5 separate regions of the Homo sapiens genome follow, and regions 2, 3, 4 and 5 are each linked to region 1. Evidence: promoter capture Hi-C in 16 types of primary human blood cells and fetal thymus (Javierre and others, 2016). All regions are on one chromosome and are shown on one strand. The core of a region is centred on a gene start or on the middle of the fragment in contact, and the rest is flanking DNA. Distances in the headings are between cores, read along the strand shown. Region 1 holds the start of ZNF671 (zinc finger protein 671). Region 2 holds the start of ZNF544 (zinc finger protein 544). Region 3 holds the start of ZNF543 (zinc finger protein 543). Region 4 overlaps ZNF329 (zinc finger protein 329). Region 5 holds the start of ZNF17 (zinc finger protein 17).

Evidence for each region. Contacts are between HindIII fragments. The CHiCAGO score rates a contact against its expected background, and 5 or more counts as called.
Region 2: the fragment with the promoter of ZNF544 here is called in contact with the fragment with the promoter of ZNF671 in region 1 in 3 of 17 cell types (non-activated CD4 T cells, activated CD4 T cells and total CD4 T cells); the score reaches 5.8 in non-activated CD4 T cells.
Region 3: the fragment with the promoter of ZNF543 here is called in contact with the fragment with the promoter of ZNF671 in region 1 in 8 of 17 cell types (activated CD4 T cells, naive CD8 T cells, total CD8 T cells and 5 more); the score reaches 10.1 in activated CD4 T cells.
Region 4: a fragment that was not itself captured here is called in contact with the fragment with the promoter of ZNF671 in region 1 in 2 of 17 cell types (naive CD8 T cells and naive CD4 T cells); the score reaches 5.4 in naive CD8 T cells.
Region 5: a contact is called between the fragment with the promoter of ZNF17 here and the fragment with the promoter of ZNF671 in region 1, in 15 of 17 cell types (naive CD4 T cells, total CD4 T cells, monocytes and 12 more). The highest score is 16.5, in naive CD4 T cells.

Annotation. Positions count from the first base shown.
Region 1 is chr19:57,725,587-57,730,702 of GRCh38, forward strand. ZNF671 (zinc finger protein 671) reads right to left here and starts at 2,038. Exons shown (of 4, transcript NM_024833.3): 1 at 1,805-2,038. The coding sequence starts at 1,942. RefSeq lists enhancers at 1,737-2,237, 1,755-2,194, 2,335-2,384 and a silencer at 2,191-2,416. The HindIII fragment of the contact is 7,103 bases long and covers 1-2,781 here.
Region 2 is chr19:58,226,137-58,231,252 of GRCh38, forward strand. ZNF544 (zinc finger protein 544) reads left to right here and starts at 2,778. Exons shown (of 7, transcript NM_014480.4): 1 at 2,778-2,810; 2 at 3,332-3,434; 3 at 4,258-4,326. RefSeq lists an enhancer at 2,654-3,480. The HindIII fragment of the contact is 1,767 bases long and covers 1,676-3,442 here.
Region 3 is chr19:57,317,799-57,322,914 of GRCh38, forward strand. It overlaps ZNF543 (zinc finger protein 543), which reads left to right and starts at 2,674. Exons shown (of 4, transcript NM_213598.4): 1 at 2,674-3,073. The coding sequence starts at 3,056. RefSeq lists enhancers at 1,050-1,567, 2,493-2,612, 2,623-2,772. The HindIII fragment of the contact is 3,609 bases long and covers 53-3,661 here.
Region 4 is chr19:58,126,086-58,131,201 of GRCh38, forward strand. ZNF329 (zinc finger protein 329) reads right to left here. Exons shown (of 4, transcript NM_024620.4): 4 at 163-3,426. The coding sequence starts at 3,418. The coding sequence ends at 1,793. Among named protein-coding and RNA genes, the nearest start is that of ZNF329, 22 kb to the right of the region's middle. The HindIII fragment of the contact is 846 bases long and covers 2,618-3,463 here.
Region 5 is chr19:57,408,047-57,413,162 of GRCh38, forward strand. It overlaps ZNF17 (zinc finger protein 17), which reads left to right and starts at 3,115. Exons shown (of 4, transcript NM_001330617.2): 1 at 3,115-3,360. RefSeq lists enhancers at 3,119-3,228, 3,309-3,368 and a silencer at 3,612-3,814. The HindIII fragment of the contact is 5,033 bases long and covers 1-4,289 here.

The sequences.
Region 1 (5,116 bases), core at 788-3,287:
CACTGCACTCCAGCCTGGGTGACAAGAGCAAGACTCCATCTCAAAAAAACAAAACAAAACAAAACCTGGCCAAGGCATGGTGGCTCACTCTTGTAATCCCAGCACTTTGGGAGGCCGAAGGGAGTGGATCAACTGAGGTCACGAGTTTGAGACCAGCCTGGCCAACATGGTGAAACTCTATCTAATAAAATACAAAAATTAGCTGGGCATGGTGATGCATGCCTGTAATCCCAGCTACTGGGAAAACTGAGGCAGGAGAATCACTTGAATCTGGGAGGCAGAAGCTGCAGTGAGCCAAGATCGCACCATTGCACTCCAGCCTGGGTGACAGAGCGAGACTCGTCTCCAAAAAAAAAATAAATAAATAAAATAAAACCAAAGCCAAGTGCAGTGGCTCACAACTGTAATCCAAACACTTTGGAAGGCTGGGGCCGGTGGATCAGTTGAGGTCGGGAGTTCAAGACCACCTGGGCCAACACGGTGAACGTCCCCCCCACTCCCCCGCCCCCACCCCACCCCTCCCACCTCCCCACCCCACCCCACCCCTCCCACCTCCCCACCCCCGTCTCTACTATAAATACTAAAATTAGCCAGGGGTGGTTGTGGGCACCTGTAATCTCAACTACTTGGGAGGCTGAGGCGGGAGAATCTCTTGAACCCGGGAGGTAGAGGTTGCAATAAGCCACTGCATCCCACCCTGGGCGACAGAGTGAGACTTCGTCTCAAAAAAAATAAAAAAAATAAATAAACTAAAACTAAAAGAAAACACACAAAATGAGGGTGAGATAATCAGATAGTAGCAATAGCACACCACCCATCGTTGCCATCCCAGGCCAAACTCCTCATACCCTACAGCTCTCTCCTCCTGCAAACACTGAAAAGAACCCTTTCAAATGGCAGGACCCTTCTCTTCTGGGGGGAGTCTCAAGAATGCCCACTCCCTCTTCCCTGCCCTGCAGTCCCAGCCTTCTCATCTCTTACCCCAGAGATATGAAATAACATACTTAAGACTGCCCCACTTAAATCTGACCTCCTGGCCTTGACCTACTCCAGACCGCTCCCTTCACCCCAAAGATATTCTAAGCCCAGCCCCTTCCCCACAACTTCAGACCTTCCTCTCTAGTTGCCTAAGTGAGGAAGCCTCCACTCTGAGACATCTCAAAGTCACCATTCCAAAATCCAAACGTTCATGGAAAAACAACAAAAACACCTTGCTCTTTCATGCCTTACTTTCAGTCATAGCTGCATATGATGGAGCAGAAAATCCTGTTGGTTTCAAATTTAAAACCTACCCAGAATATGATCACTTCTACCCACTCACCTGCCATTACTCTTGGTACATCCACCACCAAAGCATTCCTGGAATCCACTGCAGTAGCCTCCTTACCGGTCTCCTCGTATCCATCCTCGCAGTCCCCACCCCAAACTAATGTTCTCCCCTGAGCAAATTTCGAGACACTTAAAATCCCAGCTAAGATCACGTCCTTCTATTCAAAACCCTCAGTTAATCTCAACGCCCTCAGAATGAAGCGACAACTTCTCAGCCTGCCATTCCAGTCACAGTTCCTCAAACTCTGCTCTGTGTTGATGAGAACCCTGTCTCCCAAATGTTTGGGGGTCAGCAGCACCCCCGAGCCTTTACCTGCGCCGTCCCCTCCGCCCGTAACTCTCCCACACCCACCCACACCGAGATAGGACCCCGCCCCAAGAGTGCGTCGCTGTCCTGGGACACAGGGGCTGCAGGCACTTTACGATTCGGAGTCGGAGAAAGGGTGACTGAGGGCCCGGAGGACGCAGCACCCACCCGCGCGGAGTCCGTTAGCTCCGCCATAGGACCGTGGGCGCGGACAGCTGCCGGGAGCGGCAGGCGTCTCGATCGGGGACGCAGGCACTTCCGTCCCTGCAGAGCATCAGACGCGTCTCGGGACACTGGGGACAACATCTCCTCCGCGCTTTCCCAACACCTCCACCTGCGGCCCACACAAGCGTTACAGAACCCCGGCCAGGGACAGCCTGACAGAAACAAAATGTCCGCTACAAGGAGGAGCCGGAAGTCCCGCCCACGCACCCCCCGCAGGCACTGAAACACCCCTCTCCTGGGCCCTCATTGGGTATGCAACGTATAGGTTTGTGGGTAGAGTGTGGTTCCCACTGAGCTATCCTTCAAGGCAGGGGATTCTCGGCCTGGGCTCTTGGGAAAACTCGAAGTAGGAGGGCCAAGTTGTTTGGGAAAAGTAACCCGAGTTTCAAAGGGCTGACAGGACTTCCGTCCTCTTTTTTTTTTTTTTTTTTTTTTTTGAGACAGAGTCTCGCTCTGTCTCCCAGGCTGCAGTGCAGTGGCGCGATCTCGGCTGACTGCAACCTCCGCCTCCCGGGTTCAAGCGATTCTCCTGCCTCAGCCTCCCAAGTAATTGGGACTACAGGGGCCCGCCACCACGCCAGGCTAATTTTAGTACTTTTAGCAGAGTACGGGATTTCACCATGTTGGCCAGGCTGGTCTCGAACTCCTGACTTTGTGATTTGCCTGCTTCGGCCTCCCAAAGTGCTGGGATTACAGGAGTGAGCCATGGTGCCCGGCTGACTTCTGTCCTCTTAAAAGGCCTGGACCTAGATTCCCTGGAGTGTAGTATGCACCGATCGCAGAAATGTTGAGACATTTCAGATGTTCCCCAAAGCTGCAAAACTAAATAGATACACCACACCACAATGTCTCTTTGCGTACACTCACAGCTAGAAGCTAATAACTATTACCTTGTTGCTTTTTAAATATGTGTGCACTCAAGCTTTACAGTAACTTTTGTGAGCTTCAGTTTGGTCAGAGACGGAAGAGAAAATATTCCAAACAAGGCCTTGGAGTGGAAGAAGGAAGAGGGATGATGTGGAGTCTCCCTGAAACCAGTGGACAGATTTCTTCAGAAAACTCTTCCTGCCTGGGTAATCAGTGATGTCTCCATCACAGCAAAACACAGTGCAATTACCATTTAACCTGTCATTGTCATTGTAAGTATGGTGTCTGTGTTAGGAGGTGAGATTATCCCCGGGGGAAAAATCCTGACAGCTATTAATAATGATTCCGTAGTTATTTGAAGATAATGAAAGAAATTGCTCTAAGGAAATATCTGTGATAGATGGACAAAGTTAAGATCTCAGTAAAGTTTGAGCCTGAATACTAAAGTATAAGTGAAAGAATGAAGTTAAGCATATGGTTGTGTTGTGATCTTGACCACACTTTGTCAACAAAATGTGACTCTTTTTTCCTGAAAATGCTGAGCAATTGTAAAGAAGATATCAGAATGGTAAAAATCAACAGTGAAGTTGTGCTGTCTTGATAATTCACTGTTAAAATACACATCCAAGGAACACATACGAGCTCTCAGTAGGTGTTTTTCAAATGTGTTAGTAGCATGAAAGACATCACTAATAAAATTTCCAAGATTCCTATACATACAGGACATGTCCTGCATATAATGATTTTTGTCCTGCATCACCTTTTGACTTTGTCACAATACCCTAAATAAATATTCTAAAGAAGGCAACAGTCTTAAAGAAAAGAATTTTCAACCCGGAATTTCATATCCAGCCAAACTAAGCTTCATAAGTGAAGGAGAAATAAAATACTTTACAGACAAGCAAATGCTGAGAGATTTTGTCACCACCAGGCCTGCCCTAAAAGAGCTCCTGAAGGAAGCACTAAACATGGAAAGGAACAACTGGTACCAGCCACTGCAAAAACATGCCAAATTGTAAAGACCATCAAGGCTAGGAAGAAACTGCATCAACTAATGAGCAAAATAACCAGCTAACATCATAATGACAGGATCAAATTCACACATAACAATACTAACCTTAAATGTAAATGGGCTCAATGCTCCAATTAAAAGGCACAGACTGGCAAATTGGATAAACAGTCAAGACCCATCTGTGTGCTGTATTCAGGAAACCCATCTCACATGCAGAGACACACATAGGCTCAAAATAAAGGGATGGAGGAAGATCTACCAAGCAAATGGAAAACAAAAAAAGGCAGGGGTTGCAATACTACTCTCGGATAAAACAGACTTTAAACCAACAAAGATCAAAAGAGACAAAGAAGGCCATTACATAATGGTAAAGGGATCAATTCAACAAGAAGAACTAACTATCCTAAATATATATGCACCCAATACGGGAGCACCCAGATTCATAAAGCGAGTCCTTAGTGACCTACAAAGAGACTTAAACTCCCACACAATAATAATGGGAGACTTTAACACCCCACTGTCAACATTAGACGGATCAACAAGACAGAAAGTTAACAAGGATATCGAGGAATTGAACTCAGCTCTGCACCAAGCGGACCTAATAGACATCTACAGAACTCTCCACCCCAAATCAACAGAATATACATTTTTTTTCAGCACCACACTACACCTATTCCAAAATTGACCACATAGTTGGAAGTAAAGCACTCCTCCGCAAATGTAAAAGAACAGAAATTATAACAAACTGTCTCTCAGACCACAGTGCAATCAAACTAGAACTCAGGATTAAGAAACTCATTCAAAACCACTTAACTACATGGAAACTGAACAACCTGCTCCTGAATGACTACTAGGTACATAACGAAATGAAGGCAGAAATAAAGATGTTCTTTGAAACCAACGATAACAAAGACACAACATACCACAATCCTGGGACACGTCCAAAGCAGTGTGTAGAGGGAAATTTATAGCACTAAATGCCCACCAGAGAAAGCAGGAAAGATCTAAAATTGACACCCTAACATCCAATTAAAAGAACTAGAGAAGCAAGAGCAAACACATTCAAAAGCTAGCAGAAGGCAAGAAATAACTAAGATCAGAGCAGAACTGAAGGAAATAGAGACACAAAAAACCCTTCAAAAAATCAATGAATCCAGGAGCTGGTTTTTTGAAAAGATCAACAAAATTGATAGACCACTAGCACGACTAATAAAGAAGAAAAGAGAGAAGAATCAAATAGATGCAATAAAAAAAGACAAAGGGGATAACAGCACCCATCCCACAGAAATACAAACTACCATCAGAGAATACTATAAACACCTCTACGCAAATAAACTAGAAAATCTAGAAGAAATGGACAAATTCCTCGACACATA
Region 2 (5,116 bases), core at 1,528-4,027, 500 kb after region 1:
GGAGTATAGTGGCAAGATCATCACTCCCTGCAGCCTCAACCTCTTGGTCTCAAGTGATCTTCCAACCTCAGCCTCCCAAAGTTCTGGGGTTACAGGTGTGAGGCATTGTGCCCAGCCATAACTTTTAAAAGATTTTCTTCCCTTTTATTTAGACATCAAGGTAAAAGTAACTTTTTTTTTTTTTTTTTTTGAGTCAGAGGCAGGCTGGAGGAGTGCAGTGGCACCATCTCGGCTCACTGCAACCTCCACCTCCTGGGCTCAAGCCATTCTCCTGTCTCAGCCTCCTGAGTAGCTGGGATTACAGGTGCCCACCACCACACCTGGCTAGTTTTTGTATTTTTAGTAGAGACAGGGTTTCGCCATGTTGGCCAGGCTGACCTTGCACTCATGACCTCAGGTGATTCACCTGTCTCAGCCTCCCAAAGTGCTGGAATTACAGGCATAAGCCACTGTGCCCAGCCAAAGGTAACATTTTTAATGTAACAATATATGGTCATTCTTTGCTCTTATGACACAATCCTACAAAAGGCGATCACTAAGCTTAAGCACTAAGCCTAAAACTGAATAATATAAACACTGATGTAGGGAAAGTTGTTCCTCAGACGACTCCATTATTGATACAGACATGGAAACAGTAAACAGAAATGTAACATCAAAGTTCTTATTTACTTGAACTTTTTTTTTTTTTGAGACGGAGTCTCCCTCTGTTGCCCAGGCTAGAGTGCAGTGGCGTGATCTTGGCTCACTGCAAGCTCCGCCTCCTGGGTTCAGGGCCATTCTCCTGCCTCAGCCTCCCAAGGAGCTGGGACTACAGGCTCCCGCCACCACGCCCGGCTAATTTTTTGTATTTTTTGTAGAGACGGGGTTTCACCATGTTAACCAGGATGGTCTCGATCTCCTGACTTCGTGATCGGCCTGCCTCAGCCTCCCAAAGTGCTGGGATTACAGGCGTGAGCCACCACTCCTGGCCTGAAATTTTCTATAATAAAAACAAACAAGATCATTTATTATCTCATAATGAAAAGTCCCTGAGGTGAGCATAGGCAATGTTGATTCAGTGGCACAAAGAGGATTCATTCCATCATGGATACTGGTTCTTTCCATTTTTCTGCTGTGCCATTCTCAGCATGTTGCCTTTACCTCCTGGGGTGGCTTCCTCATGGTGCCAGTGTGCTTGTAATTGTCCTACACATCACATACAGACATCACGGTCCAGGGGCAAAAGAAGACACATTGCTATCTTATGTCCACTTTTAAGACTGAGGGAACCGGCCGGGAGCGGTGGCTCATGCCTGTAATGCCAGCACTTTGGGAGGCCGAGGCGGGTGGATCATGAGGTCAGGAGATCGAGACCATCCTGGCTAACAGGGAGAAACACCGTCTCTACTAAAAAAGAAAAATTACAAAAAATTAGCCGGGCGTGGTGGCGGGCGCCTGTAGTCCCAGCTACTCGGGAGGCTGAGGCAGGAGAAAGGCGTGAACCCGGAAGGCGGAGAGTGCCGTGGGCCTAGATCGTACCACTGCACTCCAGCCTGGTGGACAGAGCGAGACTCCGTCTCACAAAAAAAAAAAAAAAAAAAAAAAAAAAAAAAGACTGAGGGAACCTTCCCAGGAAACCCCTAGCAGCCTTATTTCTCCTTGGCCAGAATATCCTTGCCTAATTCACACAGCAAGAAGCTTGAGTCCATTCTGATTAGCTTAGAATCCATCAAGATCCTCCCTTAGGGAGTTAGATTCTAGATTTCCCGGAAGAATCTAAAAATTGCAGGGTCGTGCTAGCCAGGTATGAAAATAAGCAAGTAAAAAGATGATGACTGTTGGGTAAAGCTATCGACAAGGTCAGCTACAAAACAGTCAAGCCAAGGAAGGCTAGTCACAGATGCACCCCAGACACAAAAGCACAGTCCAGGAGCTGAGGGTGCCTGAGCCACAGTGGTTCCCGCCTACCTGGCCTTCGTAGGAAAGTTTCCTGTGGTCTCCCTCATTGAAGAGCCAGGACGGGTCAGGCGGTGGTGGGTCTCAGACATTGAGCCCCACAACGCACTGAGACTGAACATCAGACCATTTATAATAACAGAACTCTGTCCCACAACTTCTGCAGCAATAGGTACAAAACAGAACTTGGTCACTGCCAGCCTCCCTATTTTTTTCCCTGTCCCACTTAGGAGCTACCACAGAAAGCCAAATAGGCTCGACTGAGCGATCACCTAGGACGAATCGCCTCCAGTTAGCGTGCTTCCACCTTCCACTCGGAATGCTCCAAGCAGGGCACTCCCGGGGCTTTGTTTCTATCACTAGGACGCGTCCCCACGCCCAGGCTGTCCCTGAGTCCCTGCCACAGGCGCAGATGTTGGCGGGCGCCCTTGCCCCTGAGCTCCCGGTTAACGGCCTTGGACTGTTCTCATGGCTCAGTCTTGGTCTCTCTCCCCAGCAGGGCAAGGCGCCGGGAAGGCACCCGAGATGACAGCGCCGAGCCCCATAGGCGCTAGTCCCGCCCTGGACGCCGACCGCCGCCTCCACAGTCTCGGCTTCGGTTGCTGGATGAGAACCAGCGTGGCCCGTTTAAGGGGGAGGGGACAGGCGCTGCAAGGAGCAGAGCCGCGGGAAGCAACTCCCTAAGCCACAATGCTAGTCGCGAACACAGGAAAAAGCTCATCCCGCCGCCGCGGGGCCCCATGCTCCCGCCGGCAATGACTATGCCTGTGGGAGCAACGGCTACCGGCGCGCGGCCTTCTGGGAGTTGTTTGTTGCGCGGAGCGCGGGCACGTCCGCCGGCCACCGGAAGCACCGCCATTGGCCGGTGCGTGCAGGTGAGTCTGGCGGCCTCAAGGTTGGCTCGGAGGTTTCACTGTTAGCCGGGTGCGGCCGGAGCGCAGGACCAGGCCAGAGCCGCCCCAAGTGATCTGGGCGTGCCGGAGAAACGAGCAGGGCCTGCGGGGGTCCCTCATGCGGCGAGGCCGAGCAAGGGCAGGGGCCTGATGGGATCGGGATCTCTCCGGCCTCAGGGACGGGGAAGGCCGGTCCAGTCAGGTTTCCCCTGCAGGAGCGCCCGGCTGGGTCTGAGCTTGTCGGGAGGCTCTCCTGCTGCAGAGCTGGGAGGGAACTTATAGTACCTCGCAGGTACGGGCAGGGGTGGAACTGGGTGGGACTGGGTGGGACTGGGTGGGACTGGGTGGGACTGGGTGGGCCCTCCCGACAGAGGGTGCCTGGGTCGAGGGCTGCAGGGGCGGGGGATTCAGGCTGGCGTCTGGAGCTCTGGGGCTGCCGACCCAGCGGGCCTCTCCCGGCTCCTTTTTCCTCCCTCAACTCATCTTCTGCGGCTTATCCACAGGTGGCAGCCAAGAGCCTCCTGGCACAGCGGCACCAGGCAGGTGACGCCTATTGGACCCCAGAGGTCATCCCAGCTCCAGACGTGGACACATTTTCTTCCAATGGTACGTGAAGCTTGAACCTTGCAGAGAACATGTGTATTTTCCAAGTGAACAGAAGATTAAGGCCAGTCCACGCAGGGCAGGGGTAACTGGGGTGTTGGGGGCCTGCACTGGTTAAGCGATGCTGGTGCACCCCATAGAGAGACTACAGAGGTGAACAGGATGGGATGTGTATGTAACGCCTGTAAGTTAGGGATCGGGGTTCCATTTGTGTTGGGTGATATTTGATGGGGACCGTACAAGGCAGTGCTAATGAGGAAGGCATGGGGTTGGATTTCAAGAGTCTAAGGGAGTAGGGAAACATCTGATTGTGGAAATGACTCCGTGTAAGGAGGGATGCCAAAAGACAGGAAGGAGTGGAGGAAGACTGTGTTTCTGTTTCCAGCGTGGAGCCAGGGTAGAAGTCACAGTGCAAGGAAGATGTGGTATGCCTGGTCAGTCTCTGCATGGGAGTTGAGGAGCATGTGGGTGACATGGCTGAATGTGGAGGAGGGAATGGCAGTGGCAGGAAGCCCAGGAGGTTTGGGCTGGACACGTAACCTGGAGCAGATTGGAAACGTCACCCCACAAGCAGGGAAGGAGAAAACTGGAAAAGGAAAGAGAAAGCAACTCCCTCCCCAGCCCTGCAGCCAGAGGGACTTCTGCCAGATCAGCCACCATACAGGTCCAGTATGAGGAACAGATGGGGAATTTTATGTCCAAGTATAATCACTATGAATACATGTGTTGTGCCCCTTTTGCAGGTTAACACAATGTTAAGCTCTGTAAATGCAACTCAATTAATTCTTTTAGCATCCTCACAAGGCAGGTCTTGCTGTTTTTCCAGATGTCTACGGATGAGGAAACTGAGGCCTGGAGAGGTTAAAGAGACCCGTTCAGAGTCCTACAGTGGCAGGTAATGGAGCCAGTACTTTGACAGCAGGTTGCAAAGTGAGTGTTCTCAGCCGTTGCCCTTGGATGCCTCCAGACAAGGAAGGACAGGGTTAGAGAGCAAAGATGGACACAGGCAGTGAGAGATTCCCCAGGGAAGGCCAGGAGCATCAGGACAAGATAGTAACACATAAGATATTGGGCAGACCTCTTGGATGTGGTCTACATTTGTGTTTGTGTGTGTGTTTGGGAGTGAGAGAGCAGAGCAGGATGGGCAAGATGAGGAGGGGGAAACTGAGAGTGTTGGTCACTCTGTTCAGGCCTCACCTGAGAGGAGAAGAGGCAGGGGGTGGGGCACTGGGATATGGATTCATCTTGACCAGGGAGAAGACATCTCAGCTCAGAATTTGAAGGGAGCTACTAATGAGTGCAGGCCTGCAGGAGTTTGTGTGCCAGGAGGTTGAAAGAGTCCAGAGTCATCCCTTGGAGTGAATTAAAAGGCCGATTTGTCTGCACAGAGAGGACAGTGGTGGGAGGGGACTGAAGTAGGGTGTGAGAGCATGAGCTCGCAGCTGTAAGGGGATAGTGACTGAGTGGATACTGGTGTTCCTGAACTCCTATACCACCCAGAACTCAGAAACTAGCAGGGTTGGGCAGAGAGGGCAGTCAAGGGCATAGGCAGATTGCACAGAACAAACAGATCAGAGAGGCCAAGAGGTGGGCCTCAGGCCAAGGATGTTAAGAAAAAGAACAGGGGCATTGGGCTGGGCTGGGGTGGGGTGTACCAGACGGGGAGGCTGGGAGCCTGAGTGGTA
Region 3 (5,116 bases), core at 1,424-3,923, 410 kb before region 1:
CCCCTAGGCGGCAGACACATGGGGAAAAACTGAGCTCTGAGACTATTTTCTAAGCTTGGTCTATTCTGTTGTTAGCGCTTCCAGTTACATTATGAAATTGCAATTGCTGTAGTTAATTTCTTATTTCCAGAAGTTCAGTTTGATGACTCTTTTTCTTTTCTTTCTTTTTTTTCTTTCTTTTTTTTTTTTTTTTTTTTTTTTTGAGACGGAGTCTTGCTCTGTTGCACAGGCTGGAGTGCAATGGCATGATCTTGGCTCACTGCAACCTCCATCTCCTGGATCCAAGGGACTCTTGTGCCTCAGCCTCCCGAGTAGCTGGGATTACAGGTGCCTGCCAGCACACCCAGCTAATTTCTGTATTTATAGTAGAGATAGGGTTTCACCATGTTGGTCAGGCTGGTTTCGAACTCCTGACCTCAAGTGATCCACCCGCATCAGCCTCCCAAAGTGCTGGGATTACAGACGTGAGCCACCGTGCCCAGCCCATTTTGGTTCTTTGTTAATATGGTAATATTATATTTAAACTCTTGGATTGCATTATTGGTTTCCTTGGATTTTTCCTTCCTTGCCATCCAGACTCTGAATTCTAAGTCATTTCAGCCATTTAAGCATGGTTCCAAACCATCACTAGGGAGCTAGTGCAGTCGTTTGGAGACCTTTAGAGTTGCCAGAAATCTTGCACTGGTTCTTTCTCATATGTGTGGGCTGATGTTCCTTGAATCTTTGAAGTTGCTCTCCTTTGGATGGGGCTTTCTGCTTTTATATTATTTGATGCCCTTGGGAGTTTTACTGTGGTATAAGTTGGGTTTAGTTTCATGGTTTCAATTATGGGTGCTTTCACAGGCCAAGGCTCAGCTGAGCACTCCTGAGCTGCATGCTGTAAACCTGGGTAGAGGGGATTAAGCCCTTGGCTTTGTTCTCTGGCTGCTTGGGGTGAAGCACCTGCTGTGCTAGAGGGGCTGAGGTGTTCTCAGTCTGCTGGCAAAAGTGCTCCAGCAGAGCATTGTGGGGACTGCAGAGAGTGCACTGTGGCTGGGGGATGGGGAGGCCACAGGCAAGTGTGCACCACTTGGGCAGTAGAGGGGGGCTACCTGCAAGTGTGTGCCAATGGGGTGGCATGGCTGTGGTGTAGGTGAGTGAAGCACCATGGTGTGAGGGGTCCCCGGCAATGCCTCCCACCTTTTTGAATCTCCAGTGTCTATTATTCCACTATTTCCATATGTATACATCATTTAGCTACCACTTATAAGTGATAACATGCAGTATTTGACTTTGTTTCTGAATTATTTCACTTAAGAGAATGGCCCCCCAGTTCCAGCCATATTGCTGCAAAAGCCATGATTTTTTTTAATGACTGAGTAGTATTCCATGGAGTGTATATATATATACACATATATACATATACATACATATATATACATATATATACATATACATACATATATACATATATACATATACATACATATATATACATATATATACATATACATACATATATATACATATATATACATATACATACATATATATACATATACATACATATATATACATATATATACATATACATACATATATACACATATATATACATATACATACATATATACATATATATACATATACATACATATATACATATATATACATATACATACATATATACATATACATACATATATATACATATATACATATACATACATATATATACATATATATATCGCATTTTCTTTATCCAATCATCTGTCGATGGACACTTAGGTTGATTCTATGACTTTGCTACTGTGAATAGTGCTACAGTAAGCATGTAAGTACAGGCATCTTTTTGATATAGTGGTTTATTTTCCTTTAAGTAAATACCCAATAGTGGAATTGCCAGATCAAATGGCAGTTCTATTTTCAGTTCTTTGATAAATCTCCATACTGTTTTCCATAGAGGTTGTACTAATTTACATTCCCACCAATAGCATATAAGCGTTCCCTTTTCCTTGCATCCATACCAACATCTGTTGGTTTTTTACTTTTTAATAATAGCCACTCTGACCAGTATAAGATGGCATCTCAGTGTGTTTATGTGTGTGTGTTTTCTCTCATCATATCTCATTATAACCTCAAATTCCTGGGCTCAAGCAATCCTCTTGCTTCAGCCTCCCAGTGTCTAGGACTACAGGTGTACACCATCATGCCTTGCTCTTTTTTTTTTTTTTGGTAGATATAACATCTTACTATATTGCCCAGGGTGGTCTCAAACTCCTGACCTCAGCAATTATTTTGTGTTGGCATCCCAAAGCACTGAGATTACATATATGAGCTACCTCCCTAAAATAAGGGAAGTGAGCCAGAAGCTCTGGGCCCAGCCCATGATCTCAATCGGGGCGAATATCCCCGCCTCCTGACCTCAATTTTCCTAAGCTAGAAAGGACCTTTCGACCCTCCGACTTGTGCCCATAGTAAAGCGGCGGCCCTAAGACGACGCGGGGGTCCTTGTGCGCACTTAAATGGAGTCGGCTGCGCTTGGTGAGTTCCCACACCCGGTAGATGTGAGGGAAAAACTGCCTTACTCAGAAGGCACCACCCCTTGCGTCGGCCGCGGACTCTAGGCCAATGACGGGCCAGGACACGGGCGATTTCTGCGGGCCAGGGCGGCGGAGGTGGGACTTCCGCTTCGTCGCGTGACGTCATCTCCGTGAGCAGGATTGGCCCTGGAACAGTGTGGGGCCTGGACCGCTGGGTAGGCGCGTCCAGCGGCCTGAGCAGGGGAGGGTAATGAGGCTGTTACGCGCCTTCTCCGCATCTTGGCGGGAGCCTGACGCCCCGCTTCTTCCCTAACGGGGTGTTCCACCGGCGCCTGCCGAGGCCTAGGCCTCCGCAGCCGCCCTCCGTCTCCTCAGCCCCGACGCTGCGCCCGCTTTGTGCGCATTTTTCTCTGGGGAAACTGAGGCTCCGAGTGCGAAAGTCAGCCGAGGTCGCCCCGCCCAGGACAGAGAAGGGCTGGGGGTCGGCTGAGCCGCGGCATTCCCGGGCCCCGCTAGGGCTGCAGGGTCTCAGGATGGCAGCCTCGGCGCAGGTGAGTGGACGAGGTTTTGGCCTTGCTGCTGCTCTGCTACTTCTGGAGGCCTCGTGGGCAGGCAGAAGCCAAGACAGCCACAGGATGTTTCTTTGTCGCCGTCGTTTATTTAAGAGAAGTGGCCGTAGCTTGTCATTTCCTTTATCCGCAGTCCTGCAATAGTGTTGGCCTCCGACAGGTGCTCAGTCCTTGGTAGAAGGATGAATGATGCTTCCTTCATGGATCTCATCACACTTCCCTTAAATCCAACCTCCTCTGTTGCCTGCCAGCCCCTACCCCATCCACCTGGCCAACCACCCCTGACCTTGTCTCTCCATTTTTCCCTTGTCCTTTGCTCTTCAGAGCCACCAACCTGACCGTGCAGTCTTCTTCCTTTTTCCAGGCTTTCTCTTTGCACTTCCCTTTGCCTTGAACACTGCCCCTATAACTTCGCAGGGCCTCCCTCTCATATCTTTCTGGCCTCTGTCCAGATGTCACCTATTTGGAGGTGGCTTTCTTGGCAATTCCGGCTAAAGTGGCGCCTTACGCACTTGCCCATTTTTGGCAATGTGTGGCATTTTTGTATAGAGAATCTGACGATATTAAAGAAGCTTGCCGTTTGAGTTGGTCTAGGATGTTATGTGAACAAAGAGAAACGAAATAATTGCAAAGAGTGACAGCTGATCATAAAGAGTCCTTGCTGTGGGCTGATTGGCAGGCATTATTTAACCCTCAGCTCCTTTAATCCTGAACTCCTTAGAATTAGGTTCTCTTGTCCTCACTGTTTTACACAAGAGCAGCTGGAGGCTCACATAGGTTCAATTACCTGCCTTACATCACTGTAGCTCTTAAGTATCAGAAACTAACAACTGGTGTGTCTACCATCACAGCCTGTGTTTTTACCCTCTTCTTTGCCCGCAATGGTTAGGGAGGCCTGGGGGTGACACCTAAAGTAAACTTTGCAAGTTGAGCAGGCTTCCTTCTAGCAGGTGGTCTTGGACATGAGGAGTCATGGCATTTCATGCTGGTGGAACTGTGTGGACTAAAAAAAAATGGTTTATTGGTTGTTTAAGGAGTCCGCAGGGGACCCGTGTGGCTTCCACAGTGGTTTCCTGAGTGGTTTTCTCCTATACCAGCTGACACATGTCTTGGGACACAAGATTTTGTGGTCTTTTGCTAGATGTGCCTTCCTCCTTAGCCAGGACAGACATAGCCAGTCAGGGGCCCATGTTCTCATGGCTACAACCTGCTGTGTCCTCTGTGACTCTTGTTCCTTGCTCCTGAAGTATCCTGACCTCAGGGATACTTGTTGGTAGGACTCAAACAGGAAAAGGTAGTGATAGCTCGTTGTGGATTCTTCCTATGAGAATGGGCATCTGTGAGGCCCAGAAGTGTCCGAGGCAGCAGATGCAGGTCCAGGCCCTGCCACTTTTGAGGCAGGTGCCACCACCTCAGGTGACTCTTCTGTGAGGTAGGTGATTATGACTATGCTGCTCTGCCCAGGTCCATGAAAATATTTCAAGTGGCTAACCCCAGCACAGTGGCATGTGTCTGTATATCCAGCTTGGGAGGCTAAGGCAGGAGGATCATGAGTTCAAGCCCAACCTGGGCAAAATATTGAGACCCTGTCTCAAAAAAAAAAAAAAAAATCCTGAAAATATTTTCAGGGTGGCTCAAATGGATGTATTTCAATGTTTCCCATCCTCATTAACTGTGCATTAACTTTGCTAATGAAGGAGTGTCGGGTTGCATGATTAGAACATAGACCATAGGGCCCTGGGTTCAAATTCTGTCTCTCCTGATAAGAGATGTGACTTTGGGTAGACTAGTGGAGGTCCTGGACCTCAAGTCTCTGAGTGTGACATGGAGATGATGATGGTGAACTCAGGAGCTGTGGCCCTTTGCCCCAGTGTTTCCTTTACAGCTTTTCTTCAGATCTTTTGACTATTCTTGGTGAAGTGGAAAACCCTGTTGTGTTGACCTGGACATCAGGGCTCAGATAAATGAAATGAGATTTCCAAGGTCACATAGCAGGCTTGTGTTGATTTCAGGAATTTGGTTTTA
Region 4 (5,116 bases), core at 1,791-4,290, 400 kb after region 1:
CCCAAGTCCCAAAGAAGGAAGTTATTCTCATGCCCTGGGCTTTGGGATGCTGATTCCAGAGACGCTACTGCCCAATGCCCCTCCATCCACACTTACAGCTTCCCTGTTGCCCTGATCCAGTCCCTACTACTAAAGGTCCAAAGAAACCCCAAATTAACCTCCTTTTGGCTTCACTTTTTAATTTATTACCAAATTATTATGCCAACAAGTATCTGTAACAGAGAAAAAAATATGATACAAAATTCCAGTCCCCAAAGAAAACCACATTTTATTTCTCCATCATCCACTTTCAACATACATCCATATGTGCACATATTTTTACATGGCTGGAATAATAGTAAATCTTCTATTTGATGCCCCTTTTTGCCATATTATAAACATTTTCAACATGGCAATAAAACCTTTATAATGGTTCACAGTGGCTGAATTAGAAGCATCCTAAATGAACAACCATGGAGGTAGTGGTGGGGTGATAACATAAACATAACAACTCAGTATTTTTGCTTCAACAACTAAAGCAACAAACCACATCTGTTAGAAGCAGCCCTTTCCATCTTAGCACAAGCTTGTTTCAGTCTTTTTTTTTGAAATGGAGTCTCGCTCTGTCACCCAGGCTGGAGTGCAGTGGTGCGATCTTAGCTCACTGCAACCTCCACCTCCCAGGTTCAAGCAATTCTCCTGCCTCAGCTTCCCAAGTAGCTGGGATTACAGGCACACACTACTATGCCCAGATAATTTCCTGTATTTTTGGTAGAGATGGGGTTTCACCATGCTGGCCAGGCTGGTCTTGAACTCCTAACCTTGTGATCTGGCCGCCTCGGCCTCCCAAAGTGCTAGGATTACAGGCGTGAGCCACCACATCTGGCCTGCTTGTTTCAGTCTTAAGAGGAACGACTTCATTGTTCATTCACAGGTAATTTATTCACCTAGTTTGCCCTCCTGCAACGAGTCCTCAGCATTATTGCAGGAGTATAATGCAGACATACATTCAAACAGGAAAATCTCACACATTCTGTGGTGTGTGCAGTACAGCACTGTGTGGACTCTCTCATTGTACACCTTTGTTGTTACAGAAAACACAGTAAGAGCCCCTGCCAAAGCCTCTCTTTCTGATTACACTTAAAAAAGGTTGATTCAGGCCAGGCAGTGTCTCATGCCTGTAATCCCAACACTTTGGGAGGCTGAGGTGGGCGGATCATGAGGTCAGGAGTTCAAGACCAGCCTGGCCAACACAGTGAAACCCTGTCTCTACTAAAAATAGAAAAAATTAGCCAGGCATGGTGGCAGGCACCTGTAATCCTAGCTACTTTGGAGGCTGAGGCAGGAGAACTGCTTGAACCTGGGAGGCAGAGGTTGCTGTGAGTGGAGATCATGCCACTGCACAGTGAGACTCTGTCCGAAAAAAAAAAAAAAGTTGATTCAGTGTTTGCTTACGTACAAGGTGGAAACTCCCTACTACAGGGCTCTTCATTCCAATCATGTTCTGAATGCATTCACAGGTTCTCTCTGTGGTGTCACCCCCATGTTTGCACATTTCATTCCAGTGTGTGTGTTGTCATGTCTGGTACAGACTGAATCATCCCCAAAGACTTTTCTGCCCTCATCCTAAGTTGTCTCTGGAGTTCCCCAATGAGCAGACTTAACAGTGTGGCTCAGCAATGTCTCACATTCATCAATTCACTGGATAGCTTAAAGGATTCTTTTCTACTGACCAGAGAGGAGTCAGATCTAAGACACGCCTCCTAAACACAGGAGTGAGAGTGAACTGGAAGACTCATGTGGCCCCCAACCATTATGTTTCCATGGGTTGCTCTCCCAGGTGTGCTCTTTGATGTCGAACAAGGGATGAGCTCTTTTGGAACATTTTTCCACACTGAGGACACCGGCTGGGACCCTCCCTGCTATGGAGTCTCTGATGTACTGCCAGGTGAGAGTTCTGCTTGAAGGACTTCCCACATTCTGGACACTGATATGGGGTCTCCTTAGTGTGAATTCTCTGGTGCTTGGTCAGACAGGAGCTGTCCCTGAAGGCTTTGCCACACTGATTACACTCATAGGGCTTCTCACCAGTATGAGTCCTCTGGTGCCTAATGAGGCCAGCGATATTCCTGAAAAGTTTCTGACACTGGTTGCAGCCATAGGGCTTCTCGCCAGTATGAATCCTCTGATGCCTGATGAGGTACGCACTCTCGATGAAAGTCTTGCCACATTCTTTACATTCATAGGGTTTCTCCCCAGAATGGATCTTTTGATGCACAATGAGGTGAGAGTTTCTGTTGAAGGATTTCCCGCACTCTGCACACTCAAAGGGCTTTTCTCCAGTGTGAGTCCTCTCATGCTGGGTGAGGTACGAGCCGTCCCGGAAAGCCTTTCCACATTTGCTACACTCATAGGGCTTCTCACCGGTGTGGATTCTGAGATGCACTGTAAGGTGGGAGATGTCAGTGAAGGGTTTCCCACATTCGTTACATCTATATGGTTTTTCCCCTGTATGAGTTCTTTGGTGCAAAATTAAGGATGAATTTCGGTTGAAGGTTTTTCCACACTCTAGGCATTCATAAGGTTTCTCGCCTGTGTGAATTCTCTGGTGCTGTGTCAGAGCTGAGCCATCACTGAAAGCTTTCCCACATTTACTGCATTCATAGGGCTTCTCTCCTGTGTGGATTCTTTGATGCACAATCAGGTTGTAGTTCTTGGAGAAGGACTTTCCACACTCATTACAAGTATAAGGCTTCTCTCCGGTGTGAGTTCGGTGATGCAAAACAAGAGAAGAGTTCCGTTTGAAGCATTTGCCACATTCAGTACATCTATATTGTTTCTCTCCAGGGAGATTTCTCTGGTTTTCATTAAGCGATGAGCTCAGAGTAAAGATGTTCTCAAAATTCTTACCTTCATACGATTTCTTGCCTCTTTTCATTATTTTCTGATGACCAAGAGAGGTAAAATGATTAAAAGACTTAACACTTTCAGGGTATTTGTAGGGCTTCTCTCTCACTGGATTTCTTCCATGAATAACTTCCATGGAATGGTTGAAGCCTTTTCCACAGGCATCACTGTCACCAGTTCTCTTATCTGCATAACTTTTAGGATAGCTGGGTAAGGCGGGGTCACAATCCAGACCACTAACATTTGAGTCAGGTGCATGGAAACCATTTGTTGCCAGAACTCTCTGAGACGGTGGAAGGTCTGAGCTTGCAATCAAATGCTCCCCAAAACCAGGATATTCACAAATTGCTTCCTGAGTCCCTGGTTTCTCCAGAGTTAAAGCTGATTGCCTCAAGTGTCCCTCCTGGTTCTCACAGTCCCAACCATCACCTAAACTGGACAAGCAGGGAACTTCCCTTGTGAATCTTTCCACTTCTACATCACAGGGTACTTCTCTCTCAGGAAAATTCCGAGTCGTCATTTTCAATCTCATATCCCAAACTGCAAAAAGAAGAAAAATGCAGACTTAGGTATATGAAGCTTTATCTGTAAGAGAAACAGACAATGATGATGGGCTAGGTGTAAAGATGTGTATTTTTTTACTTGTTTTCTCTTTTAAATTCAAATTTATACAAGGAAGAGGTAAAATCGTAGCCAAGGAATGGAACCAAGAACAGATTCAAAAAGAGCCATGTAGCATTTTCATCTTCCTAGAGAGCAGGCAGGAGGAATGGACCTCGGGATAAATCATCACCAAAAGGATTAGTTTGAGATGTGAGAGACCAGAGGCCAAGCATCCCTGCTCCCCCTAGAATTCCATCCCAGCCACTGCATTCTTGTCCCTGTCACACACTGCCCATCAGTACACATTTCCAAAGCTCTGACTTCACAATGAGCTTACAACAGCACTGAAGGAACAGTTCTCACCCCAGCTCTGTCATCAAAGTTCTGCATTCATGGATAGGACAAAGCACAGGCTTGGTGACCTAAAAGTTCTGGGTCTAAGTCTTAGAACTGTCAATGACCTGGCGGGGCACAGTGGTTCACTCCTGTAATCCCAGCACTTTGGGAAGTGGAGGCAGGTGGATCATTTGAAGTCAGGAGTTCAAGACCAGCCTGACCAACATGGTGAAACACCGTCTCTACTAAAAATACAAAAAAAATCAGCCAGGCGTGGTGGCACATGCCTGTAGTCCCAGCTACTCTGGAGGCTGAGGCAGGAGAATCACTTCAACCTGGTAGGCAGAGGTTGCAGTGAGCTGAGATCACACCACTGCACTCCAGCCTACGCGGCAGAGTGAGACTCCATCTCAAAAAACAAAACAAAACAAAAACTGTCAAAGACTGCCCTGCATGGTTGTTATAAAAACTGGATCATGTCGGCCAGGCGCGGTGGTCACGCCTGTAATCCCAGCACTTTGGGAGGCCGAGGTGGGCAGATCACAAGGTCAGGAGATTGAGACCATCCTGGCTAACGTGGTGAAACCCCGTCTCTACTAAAAAAATACAAACAATTAGCCAGGCGTGGTGGCGGGCGCCTGTAGTCCCAGCTACTCGGGAGGCTGAGGCAGGAGAATGGCGCGAACCCGGGAGGCGGAGCTTGCAGTGAGCCAAGATCGTGCCACTGCACTCCAGCCTGGGCCACAGAGCAAGACTCCGTCTCAAAAAAAAAAAAAAAAAAAAACTGGATCATGTACAAAGCAGTCTCCAAGGCTAGGGGATGAAGGGCATTCTGTAAATGGTTGCATGTGTCTTCATGCATATCAATCTTCCTGTCACCATCCTTGTCCATTCAGACTTCACAATATTAAGACAACTGGTTGTCCATTCATTCGTTCATTCATTTGGTGGGATCGGGTCTCGCTCTGTCATTCAGGCTGAAGTGCAGTGGTGTGATCTTGGTTCACTGAAGCCTCAATCTCAAAAACTTCAAGCAATTATCCCACCTCAGCCTCCCAAAATGCTGCAAATACAGGGATGAGCCATTGTGCCCAGCCTTCTTTCTATTTTTTAAGGTAAAATGAAAATAGACCCTTGCCTCAGAATACATACATACATATATGTCTACATTCTAGGCAATTTAAATATATATACATGTATATGTGTATATGTGTGTGTGTGTGTGTGTGTGCGCGTGTATTTACATTTCAGAAGGATACAGGCTGCAACATAAAGTCAAAGTTTAAATAAT
Region 5 (5,116 bases), core at 1,865-4,364, 320 kb before region 1:
CCTGTTTCTGGTATATCTCTCAGTCAAGTCCATAAATTCTTATGTGAGAGAAGTTTTCTCACAATACTGTTCAAGGCAGCAGGGACATGGAGACAATATGTTGTAGCATTAAGTGTAAGAGGAGGACCAAAGACATCTATGAGTGAAGTAGAAGACTGAATGTCCACACTAAAGTACAACAGGGCAGTTACTAGCATTTAAGTAGACTTTGACACAGGAGTATATATACATATTAAACACACATTTTGAGTACCAACAAAGGGAGAAAGAAGTCTATAGTACAGTACAATTAAACTACACAAAAAGTAACAGTGCTCCTCTTTCTAAAACACATGTAAATACAAAAACACACAACAGACCTTTAGAATTGTTGTCTACAAGTGGTGGGGTGATGAAGTGTGAGGAACAGGAATGAGTGGAAACACGTCGGAACATTGAACAAGACGAGGTCCTTGTGGGGACATAAGGAGAGAATGTCCACTCACTGTCCAGAGCCTCCTGGGCCATTGTCACCATACAGCCGCTCATTACATGAAAGTGGAATTTCAAAAGGTAGCGAAACACCTAATAAAATATGTTGAAAGGGCTGGGCATGGTGGCTCATGCCTGTAATCCCAGCACTTTGGGAGGCCAAGCCGGGTGGATCATGAGGTCAGGAGTTCAAGACCAGCCTGGCCAACATGGTGAAACCCTGTCTCTACTAAAAATACAAAAATTAGCCAGGTGTGGTGGTGCACACCTGTAGTCCCAGCTACTCGGGAGCTGAGGCAGGAGAATTGCTTGAACCCAGGAGGCAGAGGTTGCAGTGAGCTGAGATCGTGTGACTGCACTCCAGCCTGGGCAACAGAGCGAGACTCTCTCTCTCTCCCTCTCTCCATATATATATATATATATACATACACATACACAAAGATATGTGGCCTGTCACCAAGTGTTAGATGGATGTTTGGGCCAGGCGAGGTGGCTCATGCCTGTAATCCCAGCACTTTGGGAGGCTGAGGCGGGTGGATCACCTGAGGCCAGGAGTTCAAGACCAGCCTGGCCAACATGGTGAAACCCCGTCTCTACTAAAAGTACAAAAATCAGCCAGGCGTGGTGGCCATGCCTGTAATCCCAGCTACTCAGGAGGCTGAGGCAGGAGAATCGCCTGAACCTGGGAGGCAGAGGTTGCCGTGAGCCGAGATCGTGCCATTGCACTCCAGCCTGGGCGACAGAGAGAGACTCTATCTCAAAAAAAGAAAAAAAAAGTTTGTTTAGTTTCTGTTGGTAAATATCTAGAAATAGAATTGTAGGATGGTAGGGATGTATTGTTGGTAAATGATTAACATGTTTTTAATTTTCAGTTTTTTCAGAGACGGGGATCTCACTATATTGCCCAAACTGGTTTTGAACTTATGAACTCAAGTAATCCTCCCGTCTTAACTTCCATGTAGCTGGCACTACTGAACAGCTTTAACTCTTCCAGACCTTCAGTTGGGTGGTTTTTTCTTTTCCTTTCGTTTCCTTCTTTCTCTCTCCTTCCTTCCTTCTTTTTGTAATTTGATAAACCAAATTTCAAGACTTTGGCCAAAAAACAGTCTTCTCCTTTACTGAATATCTCAGTGCTCCATTTTATTTTTCCCTCACCAATTCTGCAGGAGAGATCACAAGACTATGTCCATATCTTTATTTGTGGGGGTATGATTTTCAGCTAACATAGCTGCTAAGTGATTTAATTTACAATTATAGTGGTAGAAAAATAGCTCTAACTTCTGAGGTTTTGTAATTTATTGTAAAAAGCGGAATACAGGACATTTAAAGTGACCTGACAAGGTCAATACAGGACTGAGGACTAATTCATTAAATACGTCTTACGTGTCTTAGAGGACCACAGACAGCTAGCAACCCTACTCCTAATGTGTCCCATGCACTTAGTATTGTACCTGGCATCGAATGAGTGTTCATCAAATATGTTAGAGTAATAAATACGACAGCACAGTTTCCCTATTCAGCTTTACTTTTCTGGTAACTCTTTTAATATATAGTCTTTACCTCTCCCTTCAAGCTGTTAATGCACAATGTTTTCAAGTTTGAAAAAGAATCAGATTTTGGACACCAAACTTGAGTGTGTCCAAGGTTCCAGGACAACCTTAGCTTTTTTCCTCCTATCACAAATATGTTTCTCTATAACTATTTTTGCCACTTTCTTTGGATATCTACATAATCGTCATTAATAGTTTCAGTAATAGCCATTTCACAAGAGTTATTCAGAGACAATTTCAACTCCCTGTGCAGACACTGTTGATACAATTTCAGGCGAAATGATAAATCACTTTCCACTAATGAGATGAGATCATGCATTCCCAAACCTTTATCTCAGGAGTAAGATGCTTTCTTTGCACAAGGGCTTTGACTGGTGGAAGGCCACACTATTCTGGCAGATAATGGTAGATAAGTCGCTTTTCCTTTTCAGTTAGGTTTCAGTCTCTTAAAATAAGTGGAAAATATCTCAGATATAAAGTAATAAGTATCATGTGAATAAAGTGTTGCTGGGTAGGCTGAAAGACAATAACTGATTATTCAGAAAGGAAAGATATTACTCCTCAAACTCCCCATCATGCCATGTCTGGGTCTTTTCAATGTGCCCAGCAGAGCACATTGAAGATCATAAAACAGTCTCCAGAGCTTCGTTCTGTGTGTATTTGGCAAGCACAAAAGAGCTGACCGCTATGCGTGGAAGACCAGTTCTTTATGGTTGGCCATGTTCCTTCGGATGTTCGTCTTTTGGGAACTTGCTGTGCTTTACAGAATCTGAAAGGACAGGTCTCTGAAACATTTCTCTGACTTGTTCTAGACTGCCTTCCGGGAAAATCTGGATGCTTGCCGTTTAAAAGCCAATGAAGCCCCTCCACGTCCTTGGAGCCCCGCAACTGCATTTCTCAAAGCCTCAGGAGGATCCTCCTGGCTTTCATCCTGAACGCGAGTTAACTTAAGTTCAGAAGCGGGGCAGGCAGTGGCCTGGGAACTACATTACCCAAAAGACACAGCGGCGGACACAAGCAGCGAGTGTAGCCAATGAAGGCCTAGCAGAGCGGCGTCTACGGGGGTTCGCAATGCGTGTGGGCGGGACTTCCTGCAACGCCTCCTGGGGTTGTCAATATGGCTGCGTTGGGATCTGTTCACCTTCAGGCTGAGTCGAGACTGAGGTGAAAAAGCGGAAAAACGCGAGAAAAGGTTTCCCCGTTGTACAGAGGCTAGAGTGAGGCTCGGTTGAATCGGTTGCAGGCGTTGGTGCCTCTGTCAGCGTCCAGGTCACTGCCGCTCCCGCCCCGCTCTTCCCTGGCTGTGCTGGCGGAGGCTGCGCCGATGAACCTGACTGAGGTGGGTGCCGCGTCCCAGGGCGCCCCGCCCGATCCCTCCTCCGAGTGCCGAAGCCCCGAGGAGGGGCCCTGCAGGTCAGGCCCCTGTGTCCCAAAGAGAGGAGCGTTCTTGTGTGGGGTACCGGTGTCCGCGGTGCTGTGAGGCGGGGGAGCTCCTGTCAGGGACCTGCACGTGCGAGGCTTAGAGGTGCTGCAGAGCGGGCGGCACTGGGGAGCCCGAGCGTCTTTGTCTCCACGGAGCTGAGGGTGAGGCGGAGTCTCGCCTGGGAGGGCAGCGGAGCTGCTGAAAGCCGTAGAAGGCTGTGCAGGAAGGGTTATGCCCAGAGGTAGACGTTTAAAGTTGGGAAAAACAGGATGTTAAACCAGGACAAGGGGACCGCTGAGGAGACCCCTTGAGTTATGGTAGGGATGGGCCAGAGGGGTTGCAGTAGAGGGGAAGTGTGATGAGATTCTGGATGGATCTCAGAGATAGAGTCGACAGGATTTCCTGCTGCATCAAATGTAGCAGTGAGGGTAGTGAAGGGTCTATTCCATGGATTTTGTTTTGGCCTGAAAATCTGAAAGAATGGAGTTGGAGAAGTCAGCTTAGGGAGCAGGTTTCAGAGAGGATTATGAGTTGCATTTTGGAGGGCTGAGTTTTGGAGGGCAGATCATGGGTGGGTCCATAAGCCTGACGCTACCTTTAGAAAGGCGCAGACCTGTCATAGGAGGGATTCTGGCTCATATCTGCAAAAACGGAGTTCTGAATGGGTTAAGGAACTGGCCTAGGCTGGAGACTGAGGTGTGAGGTGGTTTAGATTTCTGCACCTGCAGACCCAGCAGCCCCCCAGGCCCACTCTGTGGAACAATAGGAAGGTCATCCAGACTAGTGGGGACATTGGGTCCAGACGGGGGTAGGGCTTTCTCACATCTAGTCAAGGGCCTCCAGCAAGCTTCCAGCAACTGAATTTGTAGCAGGCAGGCCTGGTTGCTGATGGGACCAGTAACTGACCTGCTTGCTTATCCCCTCCCTGCAACTTATTTATTTATGAATGTGTAAAACATTTTTTTTTTTTTTGAGACAGAGTCTCGCTCCATCGCCCAGGTTGGAGTGCAGTGGCGCGATCTCGGCTCACTGCAAGCTCCGCCTCCCGAGTTCAAGCAATTCTCCTGCCTCAGCCTCCCGAGTAGCTGGGACTACAAGTGCCCGCCACCACGCCAGGCTAATTTTTTGCATTTTTAGTAGAGACGGGGTTTCACCGTGTTAGCTAGTATGGTCTCTATCTCCTGACCTCATGATCTGCACGCCTCAGCCTCCCAAAGTGCTGGGATTACAGGCATGAGCCACCGCGCCCGGCCGAATGTATAAAACATTTATTTAACCACTAATGAACCAGTATCCTTCTAAATATGTACACATAGGTCGGCAGTTAGAAATGAATGTAACCAATAGTTAAATTTATTCACTTAATAATTGTTGAATGTTGATTTTTCTTTTTTCTTTTTTTTTTTGAGACGGAGTCTCGCTCTGTCGCCAGGCTGGAGTGCAGTGGCGTGGTCTCGGCTCACTGCAACCTCTGCCTCCCGGGTTCAAGCGATTCTCCTACCTCAGCCTCCCGAGTAGCTGGGATTACAGACATGCGCCACCATGCCCATCTAATTTTTGTATTTTTGATAGAGACAGGGTTTCACCATGGTTGGCCAGGATGGTCTTGATCTCTGCACCTCGTGATCCGCCCACCTCGGCCTCCCAAAGTGCTGGGATTAGAGGCTTGAGC